2 separate regions of the Homo sapiens genome follow, and region 1 is linked to region 2. The links are contacts of gene promoters, found by promoter capture Hi-C in human tissues and cell types (Jung and others, 2019). All regions are on one chromosome and are shown on one strand. Each heading gives the region's core, a stretch centred on a gene start or on the middle of the fragment in contact. The rest is flanking DNA. Distances are from core to core; before and after follow the strand shown. Region 1 overlaps NEURL1 (neuralized E3 ubiquitin protein ligase 1). Region 2 holds the start of CALHM2 (calcium homeostasis modulator family member 2).

Region 1 (4,394 bases), core at 131-2,630, 74 kb before region 2:
GGCATGAGCCAACGTGCCTGGCCTAATTTTTGTATTTTTACTAGTGACAGGGTTTCACCATGTTGGCCAGGCTGGTCTCAAACTCCTGACCTGAGATGATTGGTCCACCTCGGCCTCCCAAAGTGCTGGGATTACAGGCGTGAGCCATTGTGCCCGGCCTTTATACCAATGTTTTCTGACTGAGCTCCTCTCTACTCTAAATACAAGAGACCCTAATAGATAGAAATATCATCACCCCTATTCAGCCAGCAGAAGTTAGAGAAGATAGATATTCATCCCTCTACAACCCATAGGATTAAGGGTCCCCTTGTAAAATGGAGGGAGAAATATGTCAGAGGTGTTCAAACCAGAGCCACTCCATCTTCAACAGGGCCTGGGTAAAATGAGACTGAGATATGCTGGGCTGCATTCCCAGGAGGTTAGGCATTCTTAGTCACAGGATGAGATAGGGAATCACAAGATACAAGTCACGAAGACCCTGCTGATGAAACGAGATACAATAGGCCAGGTGCAGTGACTCATGCCTGTAATCCCAGCACTTTGGGAGGCCAAGGTGGGCAGATCACCTGAGGTCAGGAGTTCAAGACCAGCCTGGCCAACATGGTGAAACCCCATCTCTGCTACAAATATAAAAATTAGCCTGGCATGGTTGTGCATGCCTGTAATCCCAGCTACTTGGAAGGCTGAAGCAGGAGAATCGCTTGAACCTGGGAGGTAGAGGTTGCTGTGAGCCAAGATTGTGTCAGGGCACTCCAGCCTGGGCAACAGAGCGAGACTCTGCCTCAAAAAAAAAAAACCAAAAAAAAAAGAAAAAAAGTGCAATAAAAAAATCCAGCCAGTCAAAACCTACCAAAACCAAGATAGCAATGAAAGTGCCAATAGCATACTAAAAAGACACTCCCACCAGTGCCATAACAGTTTACAAATGCCATGGCAACATCCCTAAGTTACCCTATATGGTCTAAAGGGAGGAGGAACTCTCAGTTCCAGGCATTGTCTGCCCCTTTCCTGGAAAACTCGAATAATCCACCCCTAATTTAGCATATGATAAGAAATAACCATAAAAATAGCCAACCAGGAGCCCTCAGGGCTGCTCTGTCTATGCAGTAGCCATTCTTTTGTTTCTTTACTTCTCTAATAAACTTGCTTTTACTTAAAAAAAAAAAAAGATGATACCACAGAAATACAAAGGATCATTAGAGACTATTACAAACAACTATACACAAACAAATTAGAAAGCCTAGTCGCTATAACCTGGCATTCATATGCAGAAAAATAAAAGAAAACCAGCCAGCGTGGTGGCTCATGCCTGTAATCCCAGCACCTTGGGAGGCCAAGGCAGGTGGATCATGACGTCAGGAGTTCAAGACCAGCCTGACCAACATGGTGAAACCCCATCTCTACTAAAAATACAAAAATTACCCGGGCATGGTGGTACGCACCTGTAATCCCAGCTCCTTGGGAGGCTGAGGCCGGAGAATCACTTGAAACCAGGAGGCAGAGGTTGCAGTGAGCTGACATCGTGCCACTGCACTCCAGCCTGAGTGACAGAGTGAGACTGTCTCAAAAAAAAAAGAAAAGAAAAGAAAAGAAAACCTAGCAGAAATTGAGAAATTCCTGGACACATGAAATCTACCAAGATTGAACCAAGAAGAAATATAAAACCAGAACAGACCAGTTCCAAGTAACAATATTGAATCTATAATAAGTCTTCCATCAAAGAAAAGCACAGGACCTGATGGCCTCGCTGCTGAATTCTACCAAACATCTGAAGAAAAACTAATGCCAATTCTTCTCAAACTCTTCCAGAAAATTAAGGGGGAAAGAATTCTTCTAAACTTATTCAATGAGGCCAGCATTACCCTATACCAAAACCAAACAAGTACACAACAAAAAAAAGAAAGCTACAGGCCAATATCTCTGGTAAATATAGAAGCAAAAAATCCTCAACAAAATACTGGTCAACCAAATTTAGCAGCACATCAAAAAGATGATTCACCATGATCAAGCAGAATTTATCTCAGGGATACAACATACACAAGTCAATAAACACAATATATCACATCAACAGAATGAAGGACAAAAACCATATGCTCCTCTCAATAGATGCACAAAAAGTACTTGATAAAATTCAACATCCCTTCATGATAAAAACTCTCAACAAGTTAGGTATAGAAGGAGTATATCTCAACACAGTAAAGGCCACATAGCACAAAATCATAGCCAACATCATACTGAAAGGGGATAAGTTGAAAGCTTTTTCTCCAAGATCCAAAACAAGACAAGAAAGCCCACTATTACCACTTTTATTCACCACAGTAGTGGAAGTACTAGCCAGAGCAATTAAGGAAGAGAAAAAAATAAAGAGCATCCATATTAGACAACAGGAAGTCAGATTGTCCCTATTTGCATATAAACTATCATATATAGAAAAACAAAAGACTTACAGTCACGATGGCTCACACCTGTAATCCCAGCACTTTGGGAGGAGGAGGCTGGTGGATCACTTGAGGTCAAGAGTTGGAGACCAGCCTGGCCAACATGGTGAAACTCCATATCTACTAAAAATACAAAAAGTGGCCCAGCATTGTAGCGCACACCTGTAATCCCAGCTACTTGGGTTGCTGAGGCAGGAGAATGGCTTGAACCCAGGAGGAGGAGGTTGTAGTGGGCCGAGGTGATGCCACTGCACTCCAGCCTGGGCAACAGAGTGAAAGTCTGTCTCAAAAAAAAAAAAAGAAAAAAGAAAGAAAGAAAGAAAAAAAACTCCACCAAAAAAACTCTGAGAACTAATAAATGAATTCAGTAAAATTTCAGAATACAAAATCAACATACAAAAATCAGTAGCATTTCTATACACCAACAACAAACTAGCAGAAAAAGAAACACAGCAATCCCATTTACAATAACTACAAAAAAAAAATCTAGGAATAAATTCAACCAAAGAAGTGAAAGATCTCTACAATAAGAACTGTTAAACACTGATGAAAAAAATTGAAGAGGACATAAAAAAACTGAAAGACATCCATGTTTATGGATTAAAAGAATTAATATTGTGAACATTACCATACCACCCAAAGCAATCTACAGATTCAATGCAACTCACAACAAAATACCAAAGACATTCTTCACAGAAATAGAAAAAACAATCCTAAAAATTCTATGGACCCCACCCCCCATATAGCCAAAGCAATCCTGAGCAAAAAGGACAAAGCTAGACATATCACACTACCAGACCTCAAAATATATTAAAAAGACCAAAACAACATGGCACTGGCATAAAAACAGACACATAGACCAATGGAACAGAATAGGAAATCCAGACATAAACCCATGTATTTATAGCAAAACTGATTTTCAATAAAGGTGACAAGAACATTCACTGGGGATGGAACAGTCTTTTCAACAAATGATGCTAGGAAAACTGGATATCCATATGCAGAAAAATGAAACTAGAGCCGTATCTCTCACCATATATAAAAATCAACTTAAAATTGGCTAAAGACTTAAATGTAAGACCCAAAACCATAAAACTACTAGAAGAAAACATAGAAGAAATGCTTCAGGACATTGGTCTGGGCAAAGATTTTATAAAGAAAACCTCAAAGCACGGGCAACAAAAGCAAAAGTAGACAAATGAAATTATATCAAACTAAAATGTTTCTGCACAGCAAGGGAAATAATCAAGAGAATGAAGAGATCACCTGCAGAATAGGAGAAAATATTTGCAAACTATTCATCTGACAAGGGGTTAATATCCAGAATATACAAGGGACTCAAACAACTCAACAGCAAAAAACAAACAAAAATCCTCCAATTAAAAAACAGGCAGATGAGCTGAATAGATATCTCTCAAAAGAATGCAGACAAAACCAACAAGTATATATTTTTAAATGTTCAACATCACTAACCATCAGGGATATGCAAATCAAAATGACAATGAAATATCATTGCACCCCAGTTATAGTGGCCATTATCAAAATAAACAAAAAATTACAAATGCTGGCAAGGAGGCAGAGAAAGGGGAACTCTTTCTGCAGGCGGGAATGTAAATTAGTACAGCCATTATGGAAAACAGTATCAAGGTTCCTCAGAAAAACTAAAAACAGAACTGCCATATGACCCAGCAATCCTTCTACTAGGTATATATCCAAAGGAAAGGAAATCATTATGTCAAAGAGCTGCACGCCCATGTTTATTGCAGCACTCTTCATAATAGCCAAGATATGAAATCAACCTAAGTGTCGATCAACAAGTAAATGGATAAAGACAATGTGGTATATATACACAATGGAATACTATTTAGCCATTTAAAAAATGAAATTCTGTCATTCATGGCAATATGAATGAGCTCAGAGGACATTACGATATTGAAATAAGCCAGGTACAGAAAG
Region 2 (4,131 bases), core at 1,632-4,131:
CTGAAGAGGCAGGAACGGGGATCTGAGCCCACAGCCCCTCCAACCCCCAAACCAGGTGGAAAAAGGAAGGGTTTCAGTGCTGGGCAGTACTCCCCTAGGCAGATCCACACTCCCTAGCACTCGCCTGCCCATTGGAGGCAGGAAATTTGGAGCTGGAAGGGGATCTGATGCCTTCAGGTGTGACACTGCCCTGGATGGCCCTAGGGCAGTGGGCCCATGAGCAGTATTAGTCTAAAGGGGTCGGAACTGTCATGGCAGGTACAGGGACCAATGGCTCCCCTCTGCCCAGCCCTTCCCAGGCTGATGTTCACTGTCTCCTCCCAGGTTCAACAGACATCCCTGCCCCAGGGTCCACCCTCGTCTGTGGCTGTTCAGTACCTCTCTTCCTTTATGCTCCGGGCTCGGGGAGTGGGAATCATCAGGCGTCTCATGAAGTGGGAGCCCTCTGATTTGGGCAAGCGTGTCGTAGGTGAGACTGGGTGTGCCGGGGCAGGTCCATAAGGACATGACACACAGCCTACCTGGTGTGACACACCTGGGGTGACAGGCGATGAGACAAGATGTCAGAAGCTAGGTTCACATGGAAGAGGTCAGAGTGTGTGGTCACCATGGGGGTCATGTGACAATTGTCCAGGTGGACTGCATGTTTATTTAGCACAAACCAAGCACAAAAGTCCTCCTGTAGAGGGGTCTTTGAAAAACCACCTTAATACCCCCGTCACATCCAGGTCTCCAGGGGAAATCAGACCATCCCCAAGGCTTGAGAAGTTAGACACAGAAGCTGAAGTCTCTCCATTTTTCTCAAAGACCCCACCTCTTGGGGATGGAGTTCTAAGAGGCTAAGAGGAGCTCCAAGGCTCTAGCCCAGGTGGGATGAGGGTGGAGGAGAGCAGTGTAAAGAGAAAGCAGCTCAGATTCCAGAGTGAGACAGAACTGGGTCAAATGGTGTCTCTACCACTCACAAACCCTGTCCCTGGGCCAGCTGCATCACTGCCTGTGCCTTCGTTTCTTCATCTATACAATGAGGATGAGGCCCCCCCGGCCCGCCATCATGGGGTTGCTGTGTGTAAAAGCACATGGCACATAGTAGGCACCCAGCACAGGGTGGCTAATGTATTTGTTGATTTCTGAACCTAAGGACTTCCTTCCTCCTCCCCTGGGCAGGGATGAGACAGCAACACAAACACTCGAGCTTCCATCTTGTTGAGGAGGAAACAGAGGTACAGATAGGTTTCTCAGCACCGCCCTCAGCTCTGAGACATAAGTCCCAAGCATCTAAGGATTCATTTTGATCTTGGCATGATTCCATCCTTTTTTATCCATCCTTCCCTCTATTCCCACTTCTGGGGTCCAGTTTCCCTCCTCTTAATTATTTGGGAGGAGTTGCTCAGATCTTTGTGGGCCAAGGTGGGCTGGGAGGGCTCTTCCAGGAGGTAGGAGTTGGTATGGGCCCTGAAGTCAGGGAGGATTAGGATGAGCAAAAAACAAGGTGTATGTTGGTGGGTGGCAGCACTTCCAGTGGGAAGAGAAGGCCCGGAGGTATCAGGAGGTACAAATGTGATGAAGAGCAAAGCTTTGGGTCAGGCACACCTGAGTTCAAATACCAGCACTGCAGGACTTGTGGCCAGTCACCCAGCCACTCTAAGCCTCAGTGTGTCTGTCTATAAAATGGATATTAGAAGACCTGCTTGGCCAGGCGGAGTGGCTCATGCCTGTAATCCCAGCACTTGGGAGGCCAAGGAGGGAGGATCACTTGAGCCTGGGAGTTGGAGACCAGCCTGGGCAACATAGCAAGACTCTGTCTCTGTAAAGTAATAATAATAATAAGAAGAAGAAGAAGAATAAAGAGAAGATTTATAATTTTTTTAAAATGAAAAAATTATTTTTTAAAAAAGACCTGATTTTCAGGATTGTGGTAAGGATAGAGGAAGATAACTTTTAGGGAAGGATCTGGGACTGTGTTTAGCACATGCTGGGATCTGAAACAAACAAATAAACAAGCAGAACTTGGTACCTTTTCTTTCCTTCGTACATATGGTCAAGCCCAGCTCAGGGAGGCCAGCGGGTCACTCGGCAGCTCCACCATGACGGAACCACGAGCACTGCAGAGCTGACAGATGTCGGGGGTCCTCTCCCTCCATGCTAAGGGTCATCTAGCCTGTCCGTAGACTCTCCTGTGCAGCATTCCTGACCCGTGACGCTTCAGCCCGCATCTTGACCACTTTTAGATACAGGCTGGGCAGCTCTGATTATTACACAGGGCTTCCTTCAGAAACCTGCCTCCTTGTAACTTTCACCCACCAGTTGGAGCTCTGCCTGCAGGACCCGGAGAATCCCTAGGCTCCTGAATTCAATCCTCAGCCCTCCAGGGATCCGAAGCAGGTCCCGGGGAGTTAGCTGACTATAGGTCAAAGAGTCAGCATTGGGGATGGTTTGTCCAGTCAATGGACAACTCTGAGGGAGAAGGGCCAGTAGAGGGTGGGGCCCTGGCCCTGAGCATCCTGCAGGGCTCAGCGCGGGCCTGACGACACCCTCCCTTGACCCTCGCGGGGTCTCCTTTGGTAGCTTCTGCCCAGCGGGGGTCAAGTACGTGGGGTGCTCTTGAAACTGTCATGGGGGGCAGGTCTGGGTCAGATCTCCCCAATGCCTCCACATCCCCACGTGGCCCTCCCGACTGGTCCCATTGGTGTGGAGCATGGCCCGGTCCGGGTCTGGGCCGAGGGCGGAGGGCCAGCACGGCCCAGGGACGGCGAGCAGCGGGTCGGTGGGACGCGCAGCAGCTGCAGAACAGGCATCTCAACTTCCTCTCGGCTCCTCTCCTCTCGCGCCGCCCTCGGGGCCCGCCCTCCTCTGCCTGGTGGCGCCGGGAGGCTGTTTTTCCACTCACTGGCGCGCAGACTCCATCCCACTGTTTTCTTCTCTCTTTTCTGGAGTTAGATTAGTCTGAAGCCGCCACCAGCCCCAGGCCCCCGTGCAGAAGAAAAGCGGGAGGGAACGGCGGAGGCCGCCGCTGCCCTGCACCGCCCTCCTGGAGGCCACTTGGAGAGTCCGGCCCCGAGGAGGCCATGGCCACAAGTGCCCACAGCTGGCCCCAGGTAAGGAAGGGGCCCTCCCTGGGGTGTGCCAGGTGTCAGCGGAGCATGGTGGGGCCTGTCCCACGCTGCCCAGAGGGAGAGAGGCCCCTAGCTGAGGTTCCCTCCACCCGGTTGAACAGGGAGCAGTCCTGCCCCTCCCCGAGCCGCCAGTCTCCTGTCGTCACTGATGTTGGAGGAGGTCCCACTGGGGGTCTGGATGTGACCCATCCTTGGCCTGGGGGCAGTGGTCTCAGAAGATGGCCTGGCCCATCCTCTGCTCACCACCCACCCTGTGCAGGTATCTTGTACCCCACTTTGAGCCAGTTTATGAACCCAGGGCCTCCACAGGGAGCTAATTAGGAGCCTAGAAGCCAAGAAGGGAAAAGGATGGGGCAAAGGGGGCTGACTTTAACCCATTCTTCCCCAGCAGTGATGCAAACTGCCTTTCCCAGGAAGTTAGGCTGGAAGCTCCAGGCTGTGAAGTGGGGGAAGAATCAGACTCCTCCTCCTCCTCCTCCTCCTCCTCCTCCTCCTGTTGTTCCTCCTGGTCCTCCTCCTCCAGCTTCTCCTTTTCTTGGAGTCTGCATGGCCACATGGCTCTGCCTGAGCCCATCTGGCAGCCTTCCTTGGCAGGGACAGAAGGGGTGATCTAGAAGGGGTGATCCCTCCATGAAGCATGGAAGGGAACAGGGCTAGGTCTGTGTTTGGCGCTCACCCCATCCCTCCACTCCCTGGCTTCCTCTGGCCTGGGGAGTTTTGTTTTTCACCCTCCAGAGGGGGAGGACATGGGGCCACACCCTGGCCTGTCTCTCAGGCTTGTGTGGGTGGAGGCTGGGAAGGGAGTTGGGCTAAACTTCGCTGTTGCCCGAGGCCATGGCCACTTCCCGGCAGGTTGCCAGCGTCGCTACAGCCCAGACCAAGGCAGAATAATCTCCGGATGAGCTGGTGGCACCGCTGAGCCTTTGGTCTCACCAGGGCTTCCTGTTGCTGGCAGGCGGGGTGGAGCGGAGCTGCTGGGAGGCTGCTGGATAGGAGAGGGGTCACGGCTGCGGAAGAG

Evidence for each region. Contacts are between HindIII fragments. The study calls those that stand out against the background at their distance.
Region 1: a fragment that was not itself captured here is called in contact with the fragment with the promoter of CALHM2 in region 2 in 2 of the 25 tissues and cell types used here (mesenchymal stem cells and mesendoderm cells).

Annotation. Positions count from the first base shown.
Region 1 is chr10:103,523,703-103,528,096 of GRCh38, reverse strand. The region is part of intron 1 of NEURL1 (neuralized E3 ubiquitin protein ligase 1); the gene reads right to left. Among named protein-coding and RNA genes, the nearest start is that of NEURL1-AS1, 8.5 kb to the right of the region's middle. RefSeq lists enhancers at 1-13, 14-514. The HindIII fragment of the contact is 4,400 bases long and covers 1-3,580 here.
Region 2 is chr10:103,451,120-103,455,250 of GRCh38, reverse strand. CALHM2 (calcium homeostasis modulator family member 2) reads left to right here and starts at 2,881. Exons shown (of 4, transcript NM_015916.5): 1 at 2,881-3,095; 2 at 3,966-4,131. It overlaps CALHM1 (calcium homeostasis modulator 1), which reads left to right. Exons shown (of 2, transcript NM_001001412.4): 2 at 1-2,011. It overlaps LOC124902494 (a long non-coding RNA gene), which reads right to left and starts at 2,808. Exons shown (of 2, transcript XR_007062275.1): 1 at 2,015-2,808. RefSeq lists a silencer at 2,480-2,809 and enhancers at 2,648-3,269, 3,270-3,890, 3,839-4,131. The HindIII fragment of the contact is 12,335 bases long and covers 323-4,131 here.